Regions from separate parts of the Homo sapiens genome. Here regions 1, 2, 3, 4 and 5 are each linked to region 6. Evidence: promoter capture Hi-C in 16 types of primary human blood cells and fetal thymus (Javierre and others, 2016). All regions are on one chromosome and are shown on one strand. The core of a region is centred on a gene start or on the middle of the fragment in contact, and the rest is flanking DNA. Distances in the headings are between cores, read along the strand shown. Region 1 overlaps GSK3B (glycogen synthase kinase 3 beta). Region 2 overlaps NR1I2 (nuclear receptor subfamily 1 group I member 2). Region 3 holds the start of NR1I2 (nuclear receptor subfamily 1 group I member 2). Region 4 overlaps GSK3B (glycogen synthase kinase 3 beta). Region 5 overlaps GSK3B (glycogen synthase kinase 3 beta). Region 6 holds the start of GPR156 (G protein-coupled receptor 156).

Region 1 (4,449 bases), core at 652-3,151, 380 kb before region 6:
CTAAAAGGTTATTTTATTGTACATTGGACAACATGACCTCTAAGGAGATTTTTCAATTTTACAATTCTATGCAAAATTTGGGATATCACAAACAAAGCCCCAGAGACAGTAGGTGTTGTTGCTTTGTCCAAACTGAAACCTTAGAATGAAACAATCTAGTGATATAAATCTAGACACTAGGTTTTTTTTTTTTTTTTAAGTAAAGGGACTTCCTTTAAGATCTCAAATATTTAAAACTTAAAAAAATTACATTTAAAAACTCAATTAAAATCTCAGCTCTACTGTTCTTAAAAGAAAACATATATTCTAAGATAATATTTAAATATTTGTTAATAAAGGTGTATGTATGCAAAGCTGAATGAAAGCAGAAGCTGTGTCTGAGCAAAACCAGACATATCTTTATTCAGCTTTAAATAAAATTTAAAATAAATAAAATTATATTAAATTCATATAGACCCAATAAATAAAATTATATTAAATCCATAAGTCAAAATTTTGTTTCTATCAATGATCTAGCCAGACAGGTAGGCATTCATTCTTTCATTTTATAAATACTGAATAAATATAAATAGTGACCAAATACAAGTATCTCCTATGTGCTCCACAGAGTATTAGGAGCAGGGAGTATACAGTGAGCAAAAGCAGACACAGCTTCTGCTTTTATTCAGCTTACATACATTTTAGTGAGCTTATAGTCTAATTTTGCTTTTAAGTACTTTAAATAACAGATATATACCTTTCTTGCATCAGATATACATAATAGCTTTTCTAGGATCATACAAGAGAAGAGTAACTCAAATAAAAACCAAAAGGCTGGGGGGGCGTTCTTATACCCACTTTATAGCTGAACTTGCTACGTGACCTTGGATTGCTTCCTCCATTTTTTAAGTTTCTCGTATGTGTACATGTGTGATATATATTATTAAAGTAGCACAAAAATTCCTTCCAGTTCAAATATTCTGATTCAACCTTCTCACCTTGATTATTTCTACCAACTGATCCACACCACTATCCCCTGGAAATATTGGTTGTCCTAGTAACAGCTCAGCCAACACACAGCCAGCAGACCATACATCTAAAGAGAAAAGAAAACGAAGCCTTATTAATACTTCATAGCTTGAGCTGAAAAGTGTTTGTATACGTTTTCTAATTTTACTTTGATCACAGAGTAAATATCACAGGAAAAGATTATACAATCCAAAACAGAGAAAAAGTCATCAAACTTCCTTAATGTACTTTTTAATTAAATGTTAAACTTACCAAAGAGGAAACCAGACCAATAAGAATATTCTAATAAAGGGTAAAGTCTATTATTATCAAATTTCAGGTATTCAAGTCTTCAAATAACTAGACAGAGGATTACAGTACCAAAGCTATGGCAGGACTATCTATTTATCTTACTTAAAAATAAGTCAAAGTGACACAACGTCTGCATATTAGTAGGTACTTACAGAGGAGCAGCAAGGAAAGGTTCAATCTCTCCCAGACACTGGGCTTTAAGTCAGTGCAAATTCTGAGGAACACTTTTAAGACTTTAAATGGTTGATTTTTATGTTCTACGATGACTGACAGAAAAATGTGCTTAAATATATCATTTTTAAATAAAATGGAATAGCAATGATGGAGGAATACATTTTACTTCATAAATTATAAAAATAATCCACTTTTAAGTCAAAATGAAAACCTCAATCCGGAGAGAAAACTCTAAAAATTAACTCAATTAATACACTTTAAAAATACTTTAAAGTATACATCCTGGTTTACCCAGGATAGTTATGGTTTATATGTTGTCCTGGGATAATTATTAGTAACACCTCTTTCTCTCTCAAAAGTATTATCGGATTAGAAGATAAACCGTACGGTCACTCTATTTTAAAGCCCGCTATTAAGACTTCCTACAAGAAAAGGCTGCTTTTTAGCTTCCAGATTTCTGAGATTCCTAGGTTTTTAATGTACCAACACTCAAGTGCTTTAGGGAGACGAATATGAATCATTGCTGGACTTTACCACCTACCAGTACGGAAGGAGAAGAAGGAACAGTAAATGGTTGACAACAAAAAATTTTAAAGGTCTGATGTGGTGAGATGTACTATCAAGAGAGACTGGAAATCGTTGCTCCAGTGACTACTTTTTATTGACCTAGAAAAATGACATAGTATCATTTAACAAACTCGAGTTGATTTTGTCCAGTCCTAACTTAATAACCAAGACATCTATTCTGCAAATATAGACCAAGAGTCCTATTTAATATATTAGGAAATTGCTAAATTAAGCACATATGAAAACTTGTTAGGGAATCTTTACTCAAAGCCAATAGTAATACTAACTGTTATAGTCAAGCGGAAAAGATGTATCTCCTTATTTATGTAAATGCTTATTTTAATCTAAGTTTTAAAACATCCCTTTACCTAGTTAATAAGATGGAAGGTAATATGCACTCAACTTTTTTCCTCTCTAATACGGAATGATTCATCTCAGATACAAGGCTGAAAAAATTGTAAGGGAATAATTATGCCTTCATAAAAAACAATAGGAAACACTTTCTTAGGTAAGATTTAGCTACAAATATGGAAGACAAAAAGTAAAACATCAAGGAATACTCTTGCCTAGAAGTTATCACAGAAGACTGACACTCAAAAGATTCAGGTGACAACTATACTAGCAGCCCTCAATTCATGTTACATCAGTCAAGTTAGTAAAAACAAGGTACTTATCAATCACTTTCTGGAGGACACTAAAATCTCTTCTGCTCTTACTTCAAAGGACAAATGGATGAAATTCTCCAGATAGAATAAAACTTCAACTAAATAGAAGGTACCGGAAAAATAGAAATAGTGCTTTGGCACACTGAATTTTAGTTAGTTGGGGTTAAAGCCAGAATAGCATTTTGTTTCATATTTAACTCGGGTTCATGTTAAAGTGATCTTTCAAGACCATCTAGTTTAACACACTTATTTCATAGATAAGGAAATTAAGACATGATAAAGTTAAACGACTTGCCCAAGGTAAAGGTACTGAATAGTAGAGCTAGGCCTGGAATCATTCTCAATTCCCAATCAAAACACCACTCTCTTGAATAACTGTCTCACTGTCACAGAATAACAGCTTCTTCAAGGGTCTGTCTGTAAGTTCAATTCCTTGTTCTAAGGAAGCCTTTTGTTCTCATTCTGCCATTTGTCAGTAAGATAATATAATCAGAGACATCAGCTTTACCTCTGGCTGTATCTAAATATGACAATAATCTTGTCAGAAACAGTTACTCTTTCATTTCAAACATTACTGTTAAAAACATTTAAAAATGTAACAATATTAGTATACTTTTTGGGAGGGTCTGTTTAAAAACATTACAGTCTTAAGAGGCAAGTATCCTAAGTTTATAATGGGAAGCCAAACCTAGGCTTGCTAGGGTTCAAAAGACTCCTGTTTATATAACTGTTCCTTAATGTGTGAGATGATGTGTTAACTTTTTGAGAACAATCAAACTGCCTTTATTTTAGGTGTTTCTGGCACAGCTCACACCAGTATCTTATATACAGATAATCAGTATCATATATTTGAATAAAATGTAAAGCAGCTGGAAAATCCAATGACATACCCAAAGACAAGGGGCTGAAATTTGCTCTTGGGGAGAGTCAAGTCTAAAAATGCCACAAAAGAATACCACCTTTCATTTCTACAGTATTTTCACTAACATTTTATTTAAGCCTCACAGCCACTCAGAAAAGAACTGTCAGTAATCTCCACTTTACTTCAAGTGACCTGACACTCAAACCCAGGTCGACCACAAGCAAAATATTCTTTGTACTATTTTTCATCTGTCCATTCATATATGCCATGTACCACAGCCATACTAAGACTCTGAGAATTACATACACATACATATACACATTATTATGCTCTCTACCCTCTGGTAAAGCAGATGTCAAAGTGTGGTCTACAGAGGACACTTTGTACTCTTTGCACCTGGGTCCTCTAGACATTTCTAGATGTCCCAGAGGGCAAAACTCTTTTCATAAGAATACACCTTCACTGGGTTAACATTTGTACTGAGGGTACAAAGGAAATGGTGGGTAAAACTGCTGGCCTCTTGGCAGAAATCAAAATGTGCTTTGGCATTTTGCCATTTGGCAAAATAAAAAATGATAATGTGTTTCTGATTAGGGTGTTTGCTTGTATCAGAGAATTTCTATTTATATCAAAAAGACAAAAAAACTGTCACAAGGTCTGTTCTATTTTTTGTTGTTGCTGTTGTTGTTTTGAGAGGGGGGGTCTCATTCTGTCACCGAGCTGGAGTGCAGTGGTGGAGTCTCAGCTCACTGCAACCTCTGCCTCCTGGCCTCAAGCCATCCTCCCACCTCATCCTCCCAAGTAGCGGGGACTACAGGGGCATGTCACCACGCCCGGCTAATTTTTGGTAGTGACAGGTTTTCACCATGTTGCCCAGGCTGG
Region 2 (4,221 bases), core at 104-2,603, 470 kb before region 6:
GGTTTCTCCGGATCACAAAGGAGAAACCTGGAGGCAGGAGAGGTTAAGGAGGTTGCTTGGGGTCACAGGTAGTAAGTGGCAAAGCTTTCATGCAAACCCAGCGCCTTTGGATTCTGAAGCCCGTGCTCTTGCCAGGGCCCCACAGTGTCCTCACAAACTCCACTGCAGAGGGCAAAACACCAGCCTCACCTCATCTCTGTCCTCACCCAAGTGTTTCTCCAGAAGAGCCCACAGGCCTCTTGAGTCCAGACAGGGGAGAATTGCTTGTCACCATTACTTTCTCTTTTGCCTAACGGCTTCTGCTGCCTTGAGAGGGTTACACAGTGGCTCTCCAGGGGGCTGGAGGCTCACCAGGGGCACGTGTGCCTGAGCCAGCCTCACTGTCCCTGCAGTGATCATGTCCGACGAGGCCGTGGAGGAGAGGCGGGCCTTGATCAAGCGGAAGAAAAGTGAACGGACAGGGACTCAGCCACTGGGAGTGCAGGGGCTGACAGAGGAGCAGCGGATGATGATCAGGGAGCTGATGGACGCTCAGATGAAAACCTTTGACACTACCTTCTCCCATTTCAAGAATTTCCGGGTAGGAGGAACTGCACAGTGACCCGAGGTGTCACTGCCATCTTCATTCTCACATAGAAACTGAGGTTCCCCAAGGATAAGAAACTTATACAAGGTCACAGCTAATCAGTGGTGGAGGGTAGATTTGGAGAGCTGGTCCTGCATCTGTGCTAGCTCCTCAAAGCCTTAGTCTCATTCCCAAAGGTTCTGAAAGTGTGGTCCCTGGGTCAGCAGCATCAGCATGCAGATTTTCAGGTCACCTCAGATCTCCTGAATCTGAAGCTCCAGGGAGGGGCAGGACCCCCCGGTGATTCTGTTGCAGGTTCAGGTTTGAAAAATCACTGCTCTCTCCTTTAAGGCAGGTAGGAACTGGGTCTAAGCAATAAGTGGAGGGAAAGCTAGGCAGTTCCCCAGTGTTGCTGGCATTCGGGGCTTTATGAGGACAGGATCAGGACCTGTTGGGGGTGTGACTTTTGTGAACTGGTGTTTCTTGATCCCAGCACATTAACTATGTCTGTGCTCTAAGTGCCCTCCTTCCCCTTTGCACTGATAGATATCTCAAGTGGCCCTTCACAGCCCAAATAACTGGATTAGCCCAGTGACCTCAGATCTGCTCTTCCCATCCATAGCACCCTAAACCTTCTGAGTCTCCTGAGCCCAACATCTGGAATGCTTGGGATGACACACCATGGTTGCAGTCCCCCTTACCCTCCATTTTAACCAAGCAGGGATGTGTGTGACCATTAATTCATAGATCCCCAAAGCACCTTCATCTGATAGAGAACACCAGAGAGAAGAAACAAATGCTGTGTGTGTATATGTGTGAGGACACACGCATGCATGTGGGTGTGAATGCCTGCATTTGTGCATCCTCTCGAGCTGCAACTGTGGCTGTGCATGTTTGGCTGGGGCCTGAGTTGGGACCTGTCTATGAAAGCACATGCTGTCTCTCCTCTGTCCACCTCCTGGCATGTGTCCTAGCTGCCAGGGGTGCTTAGCAGTGGCTGCGAGTTGCCAGAGTCTCTGCAGGCCCCATCGAGGGAAGAAGCTGCCAAGTGGAGCCAGGTCCGGAAAGATCTGTGCTCTTTGAAGGTCTCTCTGCAGCTGCGGGGGGAGGATGGCAGTGTCTGGAACTACAAACCCCCAGCCGACAGTGGCGGGAAAGAGATCTTCTCCCTGCTGCCCCACATGGCTGACATGTCAACCTACATGTTCAAAGGCATCATCAGCTTTGCCAAAGTCATCTCCTACTTCAGGTAGGACATGGAGACTGGGTGGTTGGGTGTGGAAAAGAACTGGAAGTGGCCAGGAGGTTCAAAGGGCCTGGGGTAGATCCTGAATTTGGGGGATATTGGTGTCAGAAGACCCTCCTTTTCCTGTGCCCTTTCCCCGGGCAGCCAGTGCTGCTGGGGAGTAGAGCCCTTGCTGTATGGCTGGTTAGTTTTGTGGCTGTGGGCCTGCCAGTGTCTCTGCCTCTTCACCTGCTCAATGGAAGCTAAAAATGCCTCCCCTGCAGGGCTGTTCTGTGAAATAAGAACACATCCGAAGAACACCCAGCACAGAGTGGGCATTCAGATAGTCTTTTGTACTCTCCCTTAAAGGGGCAGGAATCACATGTTGACAGTTCCAGAGCAAGGAATGAGAGGAATAGAAAAGATAAGGCTGTGAAGGCCATGGGGAGGGCGGGTGGTCCTCAGAGCCCAAGGGTCAGGTCTCCCCAGAGCTAGATGTGGAGGCAACAACCATCGGGCAACTGGGGTTAGTGGGAGACATGGGAACTTCCTGGGGTGGCAGGAACCACAGCCCCAGAATATGTGTGCAGTCGTAGGATTAGGGATGGTGCCAGGTGTATCTGTCCTTGGGTAGGCCACCTTGCCTTGCCAAGCCTGGTCAAGTGGGGCTGAAACACACCTGCCACAAGCTCCTGGTTTCTTCAGCAGGTTGAGGGTAGGTTATACTCTAGGAGCCCAGAGGTTCTTCTCTGGCCCTGTAGGAGTCATGCGTGACTTATTTAATGGGGTGATGCTGACAGCAGGTTTGGAATGGGGTTCAGATGGTAGCAAATAAGCTTAAAGGGGCAGGGAGAGAAGAATACTTATAAATGTGGACATTGGGAGATCTTTGGTGAAATCCAGTGACTGACAATTTAACACCAGGGCTTCCCACTTGCTATTTCTCAAGGCCACCAATGTCGAGCACAGTGACCTGAGGTGTCACTGCCATCTTCATTCTCAGATAGAAACTGAAGTTCCCCAAGGATAAGAAACTTGTACAAGGTCACAGCTAATCAGTGGTGGAGGCTAGATTTGGAAGTACCAAAGCCAGCTCGATGCCAGGTCCTAAGCTGGGCAATGGGGAGGCACAGAAGAATAAGATCAATTACATGGCATTTGTAGCTCAGTGTTAGGGATCTAAAAGAAGGATGGGCGCCAGTAGCACAGGGTCTGAATTCCCAAGGCCAAGAGGTAGTGTTTCCTCAAAACCCAGAGTAAGCAGCCTCCCTCTCAGGCTGTGAAGCTTCCTCCTTGTAAGGAATGCCTCCTTACTGGGGAGGTGGGGGCCCCTCCCAGGTTGGGAGGGAGTGATCCCTGCAGGACCGGAAGGGTATCCATGTAACCATAATCTCAGAGGCTTGTTAAGCCGCCTCCATGGTTAGGCCTGTGCTTCAGCGCTAGGAGTGGGGCTTCAGGCATCTGGGCTGCAGGGAAACAGTAGAAATACATGTGTGCACATTAAACCCAACACCGACAGCAGGAAGCAAACATCCCCACTACTGGAACTCAGGCCAAAAGGGCGGCACTTTCACTCTGGAAAGGGGAGACTGCACTCTGGAAAGACTTCTGAGAGGGGCAAAGACATAGCATGGCCTGAGGGGCTAGCAGGATATACTAAAGGGGAAGTCATTCCAAGGGGGAAACTGAGGCAGAAAGGAGGAGGCCAGGGACCAGAAGCCAAAGCACTAGCTGTAGGTCAGGATTTGTATAGGAGCTGAAGGAGATGGGGCCAGCCTGTAAGGGACCTGGATGCCAAGCTCAGTGGGTGGAGTTCCCGGAGGTTGGAGGGGAGGAGAGGATGCTGCGGGGCAGAGCTGTCTGCTGGGTTGTGAGGGGAGAGATGAGAGGCAGCCAGACAGCAGCCACAGTCATCCTCAGGGAAAGGAGCCATCCTCCCTCTTCCTCTCGCCCCCAACTTCTGGATTATGGGATGGCTGCTGGTGCCGGTCTGTGGGCTGCCTCCCAGGGAGCTGTCCTCCCCTCCCCATCCTTGCTGCCAGGGACTTGCCCATCGAGGACCAGATCTCCCTGCTGAAGGGGGCCGCTTTCGAGCTGTGTCAACTGAGATTCAACACAGTGTTCAACGCGGAGACTGGAACCTGGGAGTGTGGCCGGCTGTCCTACTGCTTGGAAGACACTGCAGGTGCCCGAGAGAGCCTGCCTGCCCTGGCAGAGGGAGGGAAACACTGCAGTTATGGGAGGAAGGGAGCTACGCCAGGATATGCAGGTTCTGGGATGGCAGGGCAGGAAGATGGAATGGTGGAAAACAAGATATTGGTGAGGGATGATTAGATCTTGGTCAGCTTGCTGAGAAGCTGCCCCTCCATCCTGTTACCATCCACAGGTGGCTTCCAGCAACTTCTACTGGAGCCCATGCTGAAATTCCACT
Region 3 (4,432 bases), core at 1,802-4,301, 500 kb before region 6:
GTAATTTATGGAGCCTCAGAGTAATTATAGGATCTGGAACAGCTGGTGCTCAAATTTAGTGGTCCTCCAGTTGCTGGAATCTGCGATTTCTGGGAAGTTAAACTTTGTGTCACTGCTTCTACTTGTGATAAAATGAAACCGCTTTCAAAGAGAAGATTCCTATTCCTAGCCTTTTTGGGTAACTTCTACTACCTCCACTTAAGGATGAAAAGGGAGAAGTTTCCTCCAAGACTGCCTCATGGGGATCAGAGTGTCACCTCCATGCTCCTGCCCTAAGTGCCCCTGAGCACACCCCAGAGGGAGGCTAAGAGATTTTTGAGAAAGACCATGTGACTGGCTGATAAACACCTATTTTCCTCAGATTCCACCTGAATTTATATCATCAGTGCATCACTCTTTTATTTTGTTCTCTCTGTTCCTCTTTTTAAATATTAATATTCTCTGGAGAGGGGTAAAACATTAAATGAATTCACACTGAGGAAACTGGCCAGGTACAATGGCTTATGCCTGTAATTTCAGCAATTTGGGAGGCCAAGGCAGACAGATTGCTTGAGCCCCAGAGTTTGAGACCAGCTTGGGCAACATAATGAGACCTCGTCTCTACAAAAGAAAAACAAAAAAAAAAATTAGCCAAGCATGGTGGCACACACCTGTAGTCTCAGGTATTTGGGATGCTGAGGTGGGAGGATTGCTTTAGCCCAGGAGGTTGAGGCTGCAGTGAGCCATGACCATGCCACTGCACTCCAGCCTGGGTGACACAGCAAAACACTGTCTCAAAAAAAAAAAAGAAACTCTTCAGGCTGATCAGATCTGCTTTTCTCTGATGAGTTTCTTAGGAGCTCTACATTTCTGGTTGCTGCAATAGGCAAAGTATAGAATGGAGGTCAAGGCCTCAAATTTCTCTGACTTCCCAGCTGGGCTTGAGAGTGACTCTGGCCCTCAACTGAGGGCATTAGTAAGCTGTCCTTAAGAACGAGAGTGTATTTTCTGGCTGTATTCTTAACTCATTTCACTATAGAGCCATGTCTGATATTAACAGTGCAGTGCTAGACTAGAGAGGCCTGGCACTCCTACAGCCTTCTCCTGTCTTCTAGCTGGGACTTCACACCACAGACCCAAAGGAAAAGAGACCCAAAGATCCCTGCAGAAACCTGAGAATATTTCCTTTACCTCAGTGGTTTCATAATCTGTTCTTAGTTTCCTGTTTCTGCTGTAAATAATTCACTATATTTTTAAGAGAGAGAAGGTCAGGCCCTTGTGAGCCAGAAGGGATTTGAGAGATGATGAAAGCTACGTATGTTACCCATAACCTAAGGACTTCTGGCAAGGTGGCCTACCTGAGCTGGAGTCATGCCTTTTTTCCCTGGACTTGGAGATACCTGTCAGTGCAGAAAGGCCTACTTTTGATCTTGGAAATAAGTTTCCTGGGGTGAGTTCTTAACCCTTTCCAGCTTTCCCACCCTCTTTGGCTTTAGCCATGGCCTTCTGATCTGTGTTTCTCAGGGGACCTGCAGGCCCCAGATATAGCCCCATGCTGTCCTCCTACCCCAGAGCACACTGTTCAGGCTACTTCCACTGGTACTGAAATCCAGTATTTCACTTACTCTTTTTCTTTCCAATATCCTCATGACATTCAATATTTCACTTACTCTAGGTCCTCCCTGCCTAAGGCCCAAGTCAACTTTCTGTCCAGTGGGATTTGTAATCCAATACCTCCTAGCCCTAGCAGAATCCCATGTGGATAATCAGAAATGTGACTGGAAAAAGGACAGAGCTCTATGGCTGTGGGTCCCAGTCCCCACTGCTGGCAGTAAGTCCCCAGCAGTGAGCTGTGTAAGCACCTTACATTCTGCGCTTGGTTGAAAACAGCAAGGCAAGCATCCACTTGAGAAATGTCAACCCCTAGGAAATCCCAGCCTCAAGTCTTTCTCATCCCTTGGGAAGTGCAAATTGGATAGAGAAGAAACCAATTAAAAACAAAACAAACAAATCATACTTAGATATTCTGGCTTTTCTCACCAGGGCTGGATTAAAGCATGTACTTCAAAATAATAACAACTTAAGTCAATAAATAAATGTAAGGAAGTCCAAATGTTCACCTGAAGACAACTGTGGTCATTTTTTGGCAATCCCAGGTTCTCTTTTCTACCTGTTTGCTCAATCGTGGTCTCCCTCTCCCTCTCTTGTTGGGGCCCATGCCCCTGCTTTACTGTTGCCAGAGGCTTGTACTTGTTTGCCTTTTAGGTAGGAGCAGTTACTTCCACTCCCCTCACCTGCCATAAAGCATCTTTATAAACAAAGCAAGTAGAAGAAACACATCCTGGTATCCACCACATTCGGCTTTTGTTGATTCTGTTCACTTGGGAGCACCTGCTGCTAGGGAATAAGAAGGTTGAGGCTGAAGAGTGAGGACTCTTCAGCTCCCCTCTGGCAGGACCCGGGAGAGGAAAGAGCCCTCAGCTGGTCCATCCTCCCCACTCCTGGTCAGCCTTCTGTTCTGAGATCAAAGTGGTGGGGTCACATTCTCGAGAACTGTGCTCAGCCCCCTCATCTCACACCCTTTCCCTCTCCCTGTGTGCCTGCCCCCCTCTTACATAACCATGCTGGTGATTGGCACCGTCATAAATCAATACTTTGCTCACTTTCACATCAAGTAACACTATCCAGGGAGGTGGTTTCAACAAAGGAGGAAGTATAAGGAGATCTAGGTTCAAATTAATGTTGCCCCTAGTGGTAAAGGACAGAGACCCTCAGACTGATGAAATGCACTCAGAATTACTTAGACAAAGCGGATATTTGCCACTCTCTTCCCCTTTTCCTGTGTTTTTGTAGTGAAGAGACCTGAAAGAAAAAAGTAGGGAGAACATAATGAGAACAAATACGGTAATCTCTTCATTTGCTAGTTCAAGTGCTGGACTTGGGACTTAGGAGGGGCAATGGAGCCGCTTAGTGCCTACATCTGACTTGGACTGAAATATAGGTGAGAGACAAGATTGTCTCATATCCGGGGAAATCATAACCTATGACTAGGACGGGAAGAGGAAGCACTGCCTTTACTTCAGTGGGAATCTCGGCCTCAGCCTGCAAGCCAAGTGTTCACAGTGAGAAAAGCAAGAGAATAAGCTAATACTCCTGTCCTGAACAAGGCAGCGGCTCCTTGGTAAAGCTACTCCTTGATCGATCCTTTGCACCGGATTGTTCAAAGTGGACCCCAGGGGAGAAGTCGGAGCAAAGAACTTACCACCAAGCAGGTATGGTTTTTCTTTCTTTCTCTTTTGCTGGGGGCTGACCGCCCTTCAGCTCCAGCCAAAAGATGTGTGTGAACACAAATATACCTTCTGTTTGAGGTCAGCATCATAGTGGGTCGTGAATCATGTTGGCCTTGCTGCTGTCTCCTCATTTCTAGGGTGGAAAAAAAAAAGCATGAAAACAATCACTTAATGTTGAGCCCCATTACTGATGCTCTCTGGTCCTGCACTAGCCTCCTAGAAAAATCACCACAGGAGAAGCCTTAACTACTGCATGAGTTACCACAAGTCACACATACAACCAGCTCCCTGTTACAGGGCTGGAGTCCCTGGACCCAGGAAATACCACCTCCAAGGACTGTGGGAGCTGGGGACTATGGGAACTGGGATCAACTCAGTCCTGATTCCTTTTGGCCTGCTGGGTTAGTGCTGGCAGCCCCCTGAGGCCAAGGACAGCAGCATGACAGTCACCAGGACTCACCACTTCAAGGAGGGGTCCCTCAGAGCACCTGCCATACCCCTGCACAGTGCTGCGGCTGAGTTGGCTTCAAACCAGTGAGTTTTCTACCTCTACTATTGAAAGGGCACCTTGTCCCACAGAACCGAGTCTTGCCTGCATGTGGTCAGTGCCACCAGGTCCTTCTTCTCTCCACTTTACAGCCCAGCTCGGCTGAAGCTATGGCCAGAGGCACTGCTTTAAGGCCACTCCATATCTAGGACAGGTCAACAGACACCTCTGAGGCCACTGAGTCTTGACTCAATGAATCAGCTATAGCAGGCACTATTCCTCTCCCACATGGCCTCTAATGATATGGTCAGAGTTGAAAGGATGCTAAGGGAGGCCTCAGAGGCTTATTTAATCAGTTGGTTAATGGGAAAAAGTATTTTGTGGTACACAAATACGCTTTAAAAATATTTTAGTTATGTCATAAAAGTCTAAACCTGGGGTTGACAAACTATGGCTCACAGGCTAACTCTGGCCCACCAGCTGTTTTTATAAATGAAGCTTTATTGGAACACAGCCATGCCCATTCGTTATGTATTGTATATGGCTGTTTTTGCCCTACAACATCCTTTCAACTCTGGCCATATCATTAGAGGCCATGTGGGAGAGGAATAGTGCCTGCTATAGCTGATTCATTGAGTCAGCAAAATTGACCAATTGCGAAAGAGACAGTATGGCC
Region 4 (4,294 bases), core at 311-2,810, 330 kb before region 6:
CTCAAGGAGGTGTGGGTGGTTCAGAAGCCATAGGAGAGTATATATTATTGCCTATACAGGTTGAATACACATTATCCGAAATGCTTGGGACCAAAAGTGTTTCAGACTTCAGACTTTTTTTGGATTTAGTATTATCTTTACCCATTAAGCCTTCCTAATCTGAAAATCCAAAATTCAAAATGCTCCAATGAGCACTCCCTTTAAACATCGTGTTGGTGCTCAAAAAGTTTTAAATTTCAGAGCATTTCAAATTTTGGATTTTTGGTTTCAAGATGCTCAACCTATAAAATAAGAAAAAAAGTGATCAAACTCCCCAGCAGCAGAAAGTCTATAAAGGACACTAAAAAGAAATTAGTCAGAAAGTAGAACCTAGACAGTGGAGTAACGTAAGCCTTAGGAAAGGTGAGCTATTCAAGAAAAGATTCTGGAGAATATCATCATTTAAGCAGACAGAAGAAAAGGAATCAATACAAGAGACAGAGTGAGAAAAGCTCTAAGAGATGAGCCACAAAAATAATACCCTTGAACAGGGGCAAATAAACATTTTCTATAAAGGACCAGACACTAAATTCTTCAGGTTTATTCAACTCTGTAGTTGTAGGGGAAAAGCAGTCAGACAATATTTATAAGAATGAATGTGGCTGTCTGTTTACAACAATATGTGTAAGAATTAACGTGGCTGTTTGTTATAAATTTTATTTACAAACACAGGTGGCTGGTTCACTGTTTCCCAATCCCTGCACCACAAGGCAAGAAAGGAAAGTTCCTTACCGTCAATCTCAATTTTGTACTTAGTACATATACATAGTGGACTTTCTATATTGATTTAGGGACTAATGTTCTGGAAATTTATGATATTTTCCTTTTACATAACTATAATTAGTGTGTAAGTTAAAATTTTAAATTATAGTTATAAAATAACATACTGCCTAGGTAGGCTTAACATGTTCTGTAACAAAACCCCAATTTTATAGAAACAATAAAAAGGACTCATGTATGCTACTTTTCCCAATCAGTTACACAGACTACTTGCCCAGCACAGAAAGGGAAATGGAAGAGAAACAACACAAAGGATGCCTGCATGAACTAAGGGAATAACGGACTTTTATATCCTGACAGGTAATATGACTACTAAAGTAGATATAAACCAGGTTCTTGAATACTTAGTTTTCGGAAGCCCTAGCATGTAAGTCAATGCCAGCTTAAGTGTGTATTCCTTTAACCCTGTATCTTTGAGAGCCAATAACACAACAGCATATTATTATTAACAATAGCAATGATGGCACCAACAACTACAGAACACAAAGAATTTACTATGAGCTGACCACTCTGTTAAGAGCTGTATCTTCACAACTTCAATCCTCTCCACAAACCTATCAAGTAAGCAACATTATGATCCCCACTTAAGAGCGGGTGTAGGCATAGAGAGGTTAAGAAATTTGGTAGCAAACAGCACAGGCAAGATTTAAACCAGGTGTGTCAGATTCCATGCTCTATCACAATGAAATGTAACTCAATTCCATTTATTACTATGTGCTTGAAAATACAATGACAATAAAGGAGGACTTCAGTATTGAAAGAGCTTATAATTCAAAATAAGACAAGTATACAAGTAGGCAAATAAAGATACTGATACGGTTTGGCTCCACGTCCCCACCCAAATCTCATCTCGAACTGTAATCCCCACGTGCTGAGGCGAGGACCTATACCCCCCCAAGTGTCAAGGGAGGGAAGTGACTGGGAGAGATGGTTTCCCCCATGCTGCTCTCCTAATAGTGAGTGAATTCTCACAAGATTTGATGGTTTTATAAATGTTAGTTTCTCCTGCACGATGACTCTCTCTCCCACCACCTTGTGAAGAAGGTGCCTGCTTTCTTTCCCTTTCGCCATGACTGTAAATTTCCTAAGGCCTCCCCAGCCATGTGGAACTGTGAACCAATTAAACATCTTTCCTTTATAAATTACCCCGTCTCAAGGAGTATCCTTACAGCAGTGTGAGAATGGACTAACACAGATGCCATACAACAGAAAATGTTAAGTGCCACTAGAGTTATCGAAAAAGGGGTGGGTGGGTGGGTGGGTGTGGCAGCTCATGCCTGTAATCCCAGCACTTTGGGAGGCTAAGGAAGGAGGATCACTTGGGCCCAGGAGTTCAAGACCAGCCTGACAACACAGGGAGATTGCATCTCTACAAAAAATAAAAATAAATTAGCTGGGCATGGTGATGCACACCTGTGTTCCTAGCTACTCGGGAGACTGAGGTGGGAGGATCACTTTAACCAGGGAGGTCAAGGCTACAGTGCGCTATGATTGTGACATTGCACTTCAGCCTGGGTAACAGGGTGAGACCCTGTCTCTCCCTCGACCCTGGAAGAAAAAAAAAGGATGGAGAATTCTAAAAACAGAAAGAATACTTCCAACTAGGAAGATTAAAAAGATTTTTAATGAAAAGAGTGTTCACTTTTTTCATGAAAAGAGTGTTCACTTTTTTCATGAAAAGAGTGTTAAGTTGGAGCTTAACAGGTAGAATTCAACTTGTCTCTTAGACCATTTGCTTTCTGAATACAGAAACTAAAACTCGAAAATTCTCCTTACTCAGGAGAAACTAGAAACGGGGGCATCAGCCTATATATCCCCTGGAATACAACACAACTAAAACCTCTGGTTACTGTGCAGAATATGCCTTTGTGCTACAACTAAGGTTTACACAAAAATGATTGGTTGACTCCCTCTCTCCTTGAAATGTTTTCTCCAATTACTTTCCAGGACACTAAATTATCTTGCTTTTTAATCCTTCCTCATTGGCCAAATTTGCAGTTTTCTTTGCTAGTTCTTCATAATCTCCCTATTTTTTAAACACTGAAGTAGCCAGAACTTAGTCTCTCACCTCTTTCAGCTGCCTCTATCACCTCTTCCAGTCTCAGGGCTTTAAAGGCTGATCAGACTCCCAATTGTATATCTCTAGACCAGACCACCCCTGTGAATTCCAAAATCTTTTAACCAACTGCTTATGTGACAATTTTTCTGTGTCTAATATACATCAACTTGACATGTTATAAGTAAAATTTTTCATCTCCTTTAAACATGCTCTACCCATAGCTTTCCCCATGTCAGCTGTTGGCAATTCCACTCCTCTAGTTGCCCAGGTCAAAAACCATGAAGTCTTGATTCCTCTTTCTCTCTGACTTTTTTTTTTTTTTTTTTTTTTTTTAAAGACAGAGCCTCACTCTGTCGCCCAGGCTGGAGTGCAGTGGCATGATCTCAGCTCACTGCAACCTCTGTCTCCCAGGTTCAAGTGATTCTCCTGCCTCAGCCTCCTGAGTAGCTGGGATTACACGCGTGTACCACCATGCCCAGCTAATTTTTTTGTATTTTTAGTAGAGATGGGGTTTCACCATGTTGGCCAGGCTGGTCTTGAACTCGTGACCTCAAATGATCCTCCAACCTCAGCCTCCCTAAGTGCTATTATTAGCAATAACAATTATTGTTCCCAAAGTGCTAGGATTACAGGCATGAGACACTGCGCCCGGCTTGACCTCACATTAATCTGTCAAGAAATCCTGTTGGCTCAACCTTCAAAACTTACCCAGGATCCCAGCAATTGCACTCTTGGGCATATGTTTTATAGAAATAGAAATTTACGTTCACATTAAAACCGGCATATGAATGTTCAAAGCAGCTTTATTTAGAATAGCCCCCAGATGTCACTCACTGGGTGAATAAACAAACTGTAGTATATCCATACCATGGAATACTACTCAGCAATAAAAAAGAAACAATTATTGATCCATGCAACAACATGGTTGCATCCCCAGAAACCTATGCTGAGACAAAAAAAAAAAAAAAAAAAAAAAGCTAGCCCAAAAGGTTACATACTGGATATGATTCCATTTTTATAACCTTCTTGAAAGAAAAAAAGTTTGGAAATGGTAAACAGATTAGTGGTTACTGCCAGGGGTTACACTGGGTGTTAGGGGTGGAGTAATGGCAGGGAGAGAAGTCAATGTGGTTATAAAAGGGCAGTAAGAGGATACTTGTGATGTTCTGTATCTTTACTATCATGGTCTATACACAAACCTATGCATGTAATAAAAAAAAAATAGAAAGAAATATATACACATACAGCTCTCCAAAGTAGTACAAGAGAATCTGAGGAAATTTGAATAAAATCAGTGGATTCTATCAATGCCAATATCCTAATTGTGATAATGTACTATAATTTTGCAAGATGTAATCATTGAGGGAAAGTGGGTAAAGAGTTTTACCCATGTGGGATTTCTCTACTTTGCTTTAC
Region 5 (4,327 bases), core at 1,642-4,141, 420 kb before region 6:
ATTTTCAAAGATTTTGTGTTAAAGCTATTAATAAACCAGTATTATAAGCTTATTTCCGATATATATATATATATATATATATATATATATTTTTTTTTTTTTTTTTTTTTTTGAGATGGAGTCTTCCTGTCACCCAGGCTGGAATGCAGTGGCCCGATCTTGGCTCACTGCAAGCTCTGCCTCCCGGGTTCATGCCATTCTCCTGCCTCAGCCTCCCGAGTAGCTGGGACTACAGGCGCCCGCCACCACACCCAGCTAATTTTTTGTATTTTTAGTAGAGATGGGGTTTCACCGTGTTAGCCAGGATGGTCTCCATCTCCTGACCTCATGATCCGCCCGCCTCGGCCTCCCAAAGTGCTGGGATTACAGGCGTGAGCCACCGTGCCCGGCCTATTTCCAGTAATTTTTTAAGTCACCCATATCTTTTGGTGTTTTACTGCCTACAAGTGATCATCCATATCGGTACTAAGACATTTATTAGCGTATATTTGTCAGGGAATCCTAACTCATAAAGTTCAAGAGTTAAAAACAATGAAGAAAATAATACATGTCAAAAGCCTACATTAAAATCAAGATTTAACCTGCCTTTACAAAAACTATACACTGTCATTTTAAACCCTTGAGAGATTCTTGATGAGAAAAGCCTAGGTTCAGTACTCTGTGAATAAAGGTTAAGTGGAAAATTACGTGGGGTCAAAACCCAGTATCTCCCACAGTTCAGATTTCTGACCATAATACAGGGTGAGTTAGCATGTAACTTCTAAAAATTATAGGGCAAACTAGAAACTAGCTCATCTGAATTATTTTTGCTTCTAAAGAAAAGGAAACCACCAAGAACTGAAATTTGTCTTTTAATTAAAGAAGCTTCCGCTGTCACTTCTTTCCTTACTCACTGAAATTGCTTAACACTCAGACCTTTGGTTTCATGGATCTTCATCAATATTTATTCTTGTAATAGAAATAATAATTTTAAAACCCCACAATTCCTAAACTTCAGCCTAGATGTCAATGAATCACCCAAGAGGCTGACAATCTAAATATACTATAAGTGAAACCTATGCCATACAGTGAATAAAAACAGAAATCACAGCTACTTACATTGTTTACTATTACATTTCAAGAATGAGTAATTATTTAGCCTCTCAAAGAAGATTTCCCCCAAGTTTTATAGACCTGCCCTGAAATTTTGGGAAAAAAAAATTAAGTACATACCCGCACTCCTGAGGTGAAATGTCCTGTTCCTGACGAATCCTAAAGATGATAATGCAGTGAAATAATCCAAACAGGGGAAGTCAATCCAAAAGAGAATAGTCCAGCAAGGAAAAATATATCCAATGTTATAAGAAATCCATGGTGTGGGGGGGGACATAGAAAATGTTTATACAGTTATAAACTTTAAACATCAGTCTTCACAGTAGCAAGTCCAAGTTTTAAAAATTATTTCACCACAGTGTATGCAAAAAAATTTTTTTTGATTGTGCAATGGTGAGGCACAGTAAAGAAACATTTTAATTTTAGTTTATTATGTTCCAATGCCAGTGCGTTTATTAAAAAAATACAAAACCAAAAAAAGTTAAAATCAAAATGAAATCTAGAAGTAAAGTTCCCAAAGTAAAATGGTCTTCTATGACCTGGATTCATCATCCACAGACATGGCTGGGAGGGGGCATATTAGCCTGCTTTTAAAGTTTCAAGTTCCCAATATGCTACTTTTTTCTCTATTAATGTGTTCCAGTTACACAGTATAAACATTTTTTTGCTAAGTTATTAGTGATGAGAGGAAAGTAATAAATATATTTAAGTTATATTACTATAGATTTCAAGCCAGATACTTTCAATTTGTGTGAGCTAAGAAGGATCAGGCCACCGCGGATTATTCTCCATTTTGGATTGACTTCTCTGCTAAAAGATGTTTCTTTGCTGACATTCTCATTATCTTAGGACTCATCAGGAAATTGACATATCACCTCAGGAGTGCGGGTATTAACTTACTTTTTCTATTGTGGGCTTTGCCCGCTCATACCCTTGCACCCGGTACTTAGGAAAAATAAATAGAGAACATTTTTTCCTCTTTGGAAAAACTCTCTGAAAAAATAAATCCTACATCTTCCAGCACTACAAATTAAACACAGTTCCATCTGCAAATATGCCCAATTCACCCACCAAAAGCTAAACAAAATATATAAAATTAACAATACAACTAAGGGACAGTCACAGTTACAGGTGACAGGCATAGTAATGTATACCAACACCTAGGCACAACGGAGCCAAATATGCAAGGGAGGTAGCAGGGTCTATTATGTCTAGGTATTGAGAACAAAAAATGGCAGAACTCACCAGTATCTGTGAACTCCCCTGGCTATTCTAAGAGAATTTAACATTCTTTTAGGATAGTTTCCAGTGGGGGAATTAAATATTTTTCAAAAATAAATAATCCGCGGATTACTTTTAGTCTGCAGACTAAAATTTAGTACACAGATTAAAATCTGGCCCATCAGAATAAATTCTCTCATGAACTAAAACACAACCAGGTGGACAAAAATAGAAAACCAGACTGAAAGAACTGAGAGCACAAAATAAGACTCAACTGGGCCAACTAACAATTAGTACGCAGACTAAATATGGCCAGCGAAGTATGCAGCAAGGCCACAGAGATCCCAAAACACCCCTTTAAAAACAAAACCAAAAGTAAATAAATAAAACAGAACAAAATAAAACAAAGCAAAAAATAAGAAGAAGAAGAAAGAAAAGAAAAAGAGGAAGGAAAAAAGAAAGAAAAGAGAAAGGAAATACTGAAAAGAACCAAAACACTGACATGAACTTTTAAAGTGATTCAAATACTACCTCACCTATGCAGCAACTCATTTTCTTAAATTGAAACAAATATCAACTCCCATCACAAATACTAGCCCATAGAAGAAACTAACAGAAAAAAATCATTTTTTCAAAAAGAAAGTTTCTGCAGTATTGAACAAATGCAAAGAAGTCCTTAAATGAAGAATTATTCAAAATAAATTTGCATTTGGGTAACTAAAAAATGACAGAGGCAATTTCTGCCCTACATGTCCTAGAATAGACTTTGTCCTTCAAATTTCAACCTGGAGCTAAGTGTTGTGACTGAATCTCAAGCACTTTAAAAAGGCCATTTTTAAACAATCACATACACCATACTAAGACCTATGGTTAACATGGATCTCACAGCATCAGCTCTTAGCAACTCTATTGTATTATGTAGCCAATCAGAGCAATGTAAAAATGTCCATTTTAAATGGCTGTTGGCAGTGATAATTAATCTAACAGAACACAGAACAAGAGCCATGTCTGTTCCAAATAGCTATTCCTCATTAGTTTTTATTACTATAAATGTACAACACTCATCCTATATCCTGGTCATATACAAAATATAAGCATCCAGTTTTAAAAACTAATAAACCATGAATACTCCTAAAGAGCAACTCCAATATTGACTCTCAAGTAATCTATTAATCATCTGAAATTATATGCAATTTGTAAACCTAAACATAGGATTAAAAGTGAGACAATGCCATGGATTGTTGAATAGGTAATTATGTTAACTAAGAAAGAAATCAAGTCTACTTAAGTGCTCATATGTAGCACATAATTCAATAATTACTTAACAAATTAGTCTATACTATTTTTTAAAATATTCTCCCTATCTTTACTAAAAATACAAAAATTAGCCAGGTGTAGTGGTGGGTGCCTGTAATCCCAGCTACTCGGGAGGCTGAGGCAGGAGAATTGCTTGAACCCGGGAGGTGGAGGCTGCAGTGAGCCGAGGTCGTGCCACTGCACTCCAGCCTGGGCAACAGATCAAGATTCCATCTCAAAAAAAAAAAAAAAAAAAAAAACATATATTCTTTGGCAGTCTTTCACATGCTTTGCTACATTGATCTAATGATGCACTGACATACAAGGTAATCCAATTCACTTTAAGTACTATCAAAAATGATTACCAGAGGCTACTGAAAACAACTTTCAGAGTCCTCCTCCCAAGTAAAATTGCTATCTATGAAGTTGGCATCTAACAGGGTAGGATACACAAACTGAATTCAGCTCAAGTCTACTGCATAATTTTCTAAGCCTTTTCGTTAAGATACCAGTTCAGGTAAAGAAGGTTGAGCATAAGAAACACAAAGAATCCTTTCCTTAGCCATGACAAATCTAACATCCAGTGAATTTCAGCTGTACTAATTAAAAGCCTTATCGAGTTTTCCCAAGTTCTACTATAGGTAAGAAAAGTTATACAGTAAATCTTCATTTAATGTCATTGATAGGTTCTTGAAAACTGTGACTTTTAGTGAAACGT
Region 6 (4,486 bases), core at 1,375-3,874:
GAGTGACCACAGGCTGTTTTAGATCAGGTGGCCATCATTCTGGAGAGTATGAAAAGAAACTGGAATGAGCTGAGAAAAGAAGCAGTGGCAGTGTCTGAAGGAAGAGTGTTCAGGCAGAGGGAAGAGCAAGGACGATGGTAAGCAAGAGGACGGCCATAGAATATGAGGGCACCAGACCAAATCACAAGCCCTGGTGGAGAGTTGAATGTTATTCACAGTGTGAGGGGAAGCCATTGGAGGGTGTTAAGCAGGAGAGTAATATCATCCAACTGACTGACATTTTAAGAATGGGAAAAAGAAGGCAGTTAAGGGGTCTGCTCAAGATTCTTATGGGAAAGTCAGAAGAATAAGATCCATATTTTTTTCTTAAAATGTTAATATCCTTCACACATCTATATTTGAAACACCTTCTGATTCAAGCTCTGTCCAGGACCAGATCACATATGTCTGGATTCTAAACACTGATTTTTATTAACAAGTTTGTTTTAAGATAATAAGTTTATAAAATGAGAGGTAGAAAACATCTCTGTATGTCTAAAATTTTTCATAATAAAGTACTGGAGAAAAAAAGGTGAGATAGTGATTTGCATCCTTTATCAGGCAAAATTCATCAGCAACTAAACATGAATGTTCTGATTCTCAAGACCTTTGCAAAATAAAGGCTCTGATTTTTTTTTTTCAACTAAATGTAGAACATTTCTTTCAACCCCCAAATCCACCTTTGCAGCCCAAGTCAGTCCACGTTGCACTGTTTCTGCAGCATGTCAGAGCCTCTGGCTTCTTTCCTCTCTCCCCCTTCCCCCAATTAATCTCTGAAACCTACATAAGAATGGAATAAAATGCAAATTCAAGGAGAAGGATGCAGTTTTCAGAGAAGGCCTCATCCTCCTCCTACCCTATAATGGAAATTCCCTTATGGTTAAACAACAAAAATGGAAATATTAAAACCCTCAGCTGAAAACAAACACTTAAGCACCTATTCTCCTTTCCAGAGAATCTGTTTCCCTCAATCATTATTTTTCCACTCTTTTGAGAGCCTTCTAGGCTGAAAGTTGTTTCATCTCACCCATCTTGGGTCTCTCCTAGGTCTCATTTCTGCCTTCACCAGGCTTGAAGTTCTATATCCCTAGGCTATCAGAACTTTGACTCTGACCAGGCTCAATTCTAGACTTTACTGGGGAATGGGGAGAAGCTAAAAGCTGGGGGTGGAAGAGAAGGGGAAACAGAGGGAACATTCCAGAGACAGTAGTGTCCCTGAAGGGGAATTAGGCTGGCAAAATGGGGACCAGAAAGCCACCTCTATTCCTCACAAGGGACACCTAACTCAAGCACAGCCTGCTAAAGCACTTTATTCTCCAGACTCAAATTGCCTTAACCTGTAAGCAAACGCTTCCCCAGCCATTTATCCGCAAGCGCATTTGCCCCACCTGCAGCAATGAAAGAAGCACTGTTTTTGCAAGCCGGGCTGCTACCCAGACTGCGAGGAGACATTCTGTGCAGAATTCAGCCACTGGTGGAGAAAAAGAAGTTTTTCTTTGCAGGCCTTGCTGCCTAATACAACTATATCAACAATTTCTCCCGCTGTGTAAGCCCCATCTGAAAATCTTTCCCTTTTATCTAGGATGCAAAAATGTAATGTTATCCTCCATATTCTGGTTTAAAGAACTACACCAGGAAAGACATTTTATGATAGGCTAGGGCATCATTTACCTCTAATTCAAGCATGCATGTACCTAGAAAACTAACAAAGGGGTAAGTTATGCCATGCCATGACTTCTCTTCCCAGATTTCTATCCTGAAATCTTAACAAAATTCGATTTTAAAAACCTCAAGGTTTGTATTCTTCACGAGTACATGGATACCTTGAGTTCTACCTAGAGGCCTCTAGTTTCTGACAGAGCTAACTTGGAAAGGGCTGCTTGCCAGGGTACAAGGATGTTGCAGCTTCCAGGTGACTCCCTCATGCCCAGAAGCAAGGCAGTTCAACAGACGCAGTGCAATACAATTGTCCCTTTTCAGGACTTTGCAATCTCCATGGGGGAGCCCATCGTGCCCGCCACTCTACACCCTGGGGGTGAACATGCCCTGCAAAGCAGATTCGGCGTGAGGAGACTCTGGAAAGTCTACAGGCGGTGGGAAACTGTTTCGGGATCTCTCATTTTCAGCACAGCCGGTCGCTTATTCAGCAGAAAACCCACGGCCCCATCTTCACACCAAATTACAGTACTCTCCCGTCTCTTCCACTGAAATTGCCACTCGCATCCCTGATGCGTGACCCCTGCTCACCTCAAGTTCCTATGAGAGTTTCTTTACCGGTTCCAAACAAACTGCCCAGATTCTGGAAAGGGAGAGAAAGCCCCTCCCCCTTTCCACTTTCACTTAATAATTAAGTGTTTGAAGTTTTGTGGATCCTTAAGGTCGCTGTGCTCACCTCATCAGCGTCGGACCGCCGAGAAGCGCCAAGCCCGCTGCTATGTGCAGGACGCCCACGGTCCCCCGGCGTCTCGCGCGTTCGCGGGGCTGGAAGGGGCGGGAAGGGGCGGGCCGGGGCAGAGACAGGGGCCCGCGCCCATCGCCGCGCCGGGAGCCTGGCGTGGAGGCGGCGGGACGGCGGCGCAGGCCTCTGAGGTGTGCGCGGGGCGCCGGGCGCCTCTGGCCGGGGCACTGGCTGAGCCACGCCTGCCCGCCCCTCCCTGGCGCCGCCCGCGTGGCGCGCCTCGACCCTGCTCTCCCGCGAGGGCCGGGAGGGCTCCGGGACCTTGCAGACTCCACGCGCCTCACGGCTCCTCCAGCTCCTCGGATCTTTCTCCTTGCGTCGCCGCCGAGTCCCCTGGGGCGGCCCCGCCTCCGGCCGTCTCCTCAGAGACCTTCCCTGGGGGGCGCCTTCCCCTCAGCGCCCCTTCCCGGGCCTCGAGCCAGCGGCTGCCGCAGGAGCTGGCCCCGGGGCGAGGAGCTTCAGATTCAGGTCCCTAGCCGGCCTCGGTAAGGAGACTGGAAGGATTCTCCGCGAATGCTCATTTTTATTTCTGGAGTGGCGTCGGAGTTACCAATTAGTTTTCTTATTTTATACTCTCTGGAGTTGCCAAATTCTTTACGTTGAGCTTTTGCTTATTTTATAATCAGAAAGACAAGTACGTTTCTTTTTCCAAGAATGCTTACAGGAGGCCACAAACAAGATGTTCGCACCCAGCCCACTGTCTTCCGCTTAAAAATATGTGTGAGATGTTGTGTTTAAGACACCCTCAAGGAGAAACATAGAGGGGAGACCTGGAAATGGTCTTGGGAATCCACTTAGACTTTCCATATTATATTTGTTTCATTTATTTTAAAATCTCAGACCTATTTATGTGCATTAGGACATTCCACATTTTTACAACTGCGCAGAGGAAATCTTTGGTTGTAGAGGACGGGAAGAGAGAGGCCAGGTCCGCAGACCCCACTGTGACAAGACAGTGGCTACATTCTTAACTGTTTTACACATTGTGATACCCAAAGACTTCTTTTCACAGGATTCTACTGAGGGGGAAAACAAGAGGAAGAAAGAAAGATAGACAAGGTTTTCCTCAAGGCAGTAAGCAAAAAGCTGGTTTCTCAGAAGAAAGAATTATGTCTGAGATTTTACCCAGGACTCTCCAGATCTCTCATTCTACACAGAAGGACCCTTTCATTTGGAACGTGCAGAAACTGAGGAGGACCATCTCTCTCCTCCATGGGGGCTGCCTGAGTTAAAAAGGCCTGGGTCCATCTTTTTTCCGTAGGAGAGCTGACTTCAGAGTCTAGAGCCAAATCTTCACTTCTGTGGCTCTAGATTGAGGATTTGCCCTTCTGATCTCTGTGGGGCTTTTTTTTTTTAACCTGGGAATTCCCCTGGGCTCTTCGGCTGTTATTCTCATCAACCCCTCTCTATATTCTGCAAGACATTGAAATCTTTCTCCCAGCTTGGCCCCCACCTCCAATCCCAGTATTCTCTTTTCTGAGATTGGAGTATTTCCAACCCCTCAGTTGCCAGGCACTGAAGGTTTTCATCTTCCAGGCCTGCCATGTTTACCTCTGAGATGTTTCTGGCAACTGTCCACTTCTCTGCATTCTCACACTGCTGCTCTTGATAAGCTTCGATTATCTGGGGCTGAATTGTTTCAATAATTTCCTAACTGATTTTCTTGCCTCCTATCTGTCCCCACCACCAACATAGACTTAAGAATGTCACTCTCTTGACAAAACAAGCCAACATCCTCTATCCTCTGTCCCACTCCCAAACCTGCAGTAACTTTCCTGTGCAATTGTAATACAGTGTAAACTTTCATAAGGATGGGGAGTGGCCAAGATGGCTGACCAGAAGCAGGTAATGTACATGGCTCTCACGGAGAGGAACAGAAGGGACGAGTAGATACAACACCTTCAACTGAAACATCCGGGTACTCGCATTGGGATTAATCAAGGAAACAACCTGACCCACAGAGAACAAGGAAAAGCAAGACAGGACAAC

The links. Contacts are between HindIII fragments. The CHiCAGO score rates a contact against its expected background, and 5 or more counts as called.
Region 1: a fragment that was not itself captured here is called in contact with the fragment with the promoter of GPR156 in region 6 in 1 of 17 cell types (neutrophils); the score reaches 5.8 in neutrophils.
Region 2: a contact is called between a fragment that was not itself captured here and the fragment with the promoter of GPR156 in region 6, in 1 of 17 cell types (neutrophils). The highest score is 5.8, in neutrophils.
Region 3: a contact is called between the fragment with the promoter of NR1I2 here and the fragment with the promoter of GPR156 in region 6, in 8 of 17 cell types (neutrophils, activated CD4 T cells, total CD4 T cells and 5 more). The highest score is 10.1, in neutrophils.
Region 4: a contact is called between a fragment that was not itself captured here and the fragment with the promoter of GPR156 in region 6, in 1 of 17 cell types (neutrophils). The highest score is 6.0, in neutrophils.
Region 5: a contact is called between a fragment that was not itself captured here and the fragment with the promoter of GPR156 in region 6, in 1 of 17 cell types (neutrophils). The highest score is 6.4, in neutrophils.

Annotation. Positions count from the first base shown.
Region 1 is chr3:119,904,778-119,909,226 of GRCh38, forward strand. GSK3B (glycogen synthase kinase 3 beta) reads right to left here. Exons shown (of 11, transcript NM_001146156.2): 7 at 978-1,075. Among named protein-coding and RNA genes, the nearest start is that of NR1I2, 120 kb to the left of the region's middle. The HindIII fragment of the contact is 9,633 bases long and covers 1-4,449 here.
Region 2 is chr3:119,811,147-119,815,367 of GRCh38, forward strand. NR1I2 (nuclear receptor subfamily 1 group I member 2) reads left to right here. Exons shown (of 9, transcript NM_003889.4): 4 at 393-580; 5 at 1,540-1,814; 6 at 3,833-3,975; 7 at 4,177-4,221. Among named protein-coding and RNA genes, the nearest start is that of NR1I2, 31 kb to the left of the region's middle. The HindIII fragment of the contact is 2,542 bases long and covers 83-2,624 here.
Region 3 is chr3:119,779,050-119,783,481 of GRCh38, forward strand. NR1I2 (nuclear receptor subfamily 1 group I member 2) reads left to right here and starts at 3,052. Exons shown (of 9, transcript NM_003889.4): 1 at 3,052-3,251. The HindIII fragment of the contact is 6,406 bases long and covers 1-4,252 here.
Region 4 is chr3:119,956,321-119,960,614 of GRCh38, forward strand. The region is part of intron 2 of GSK3B (glycogen synthase kinase 3 beta); the gene reads right to left. Among named protein-coding and RNA genes, the nearest start is that of MIR6529, 130 kb to the right of the region's middle. The HindIII fragment of the contact is 5,917 bases long and covers 1-4,294 here.
Region 5 is chr3:119,865,378-119,869,704 of GRCh38, forward strand. The region is part of intron 8 of GSK3B (glycogen synthase kinase 3 beta); the gene reads right to left. Among named protein-coding and RNA genes, the nearest start is that of NR1I2, 85 kb to the left of the region's middle. The HindIII fragment of the contact is 4,059 bases long and covers 863-4,327 here.
Region 6 is chr3:120,282,598-120,287,083 of GRCh38, forward strand. It overlaps GPR156 (G protein-coupled receptor 156), which reads right to left and starts at 2,625. Exons shown (of 10, transcript NM_153002.3): 1 at 2,432-2,625. LOC124909418 (a long non-coding RNA gene) reads left to right here and starts at 2,559. Exons shown (of 2, transcript XR_007096029.1): 1 at 2,559-4,486. The HindIII fragment of the contact is 9,811 bases long and covers 1-4,108 here.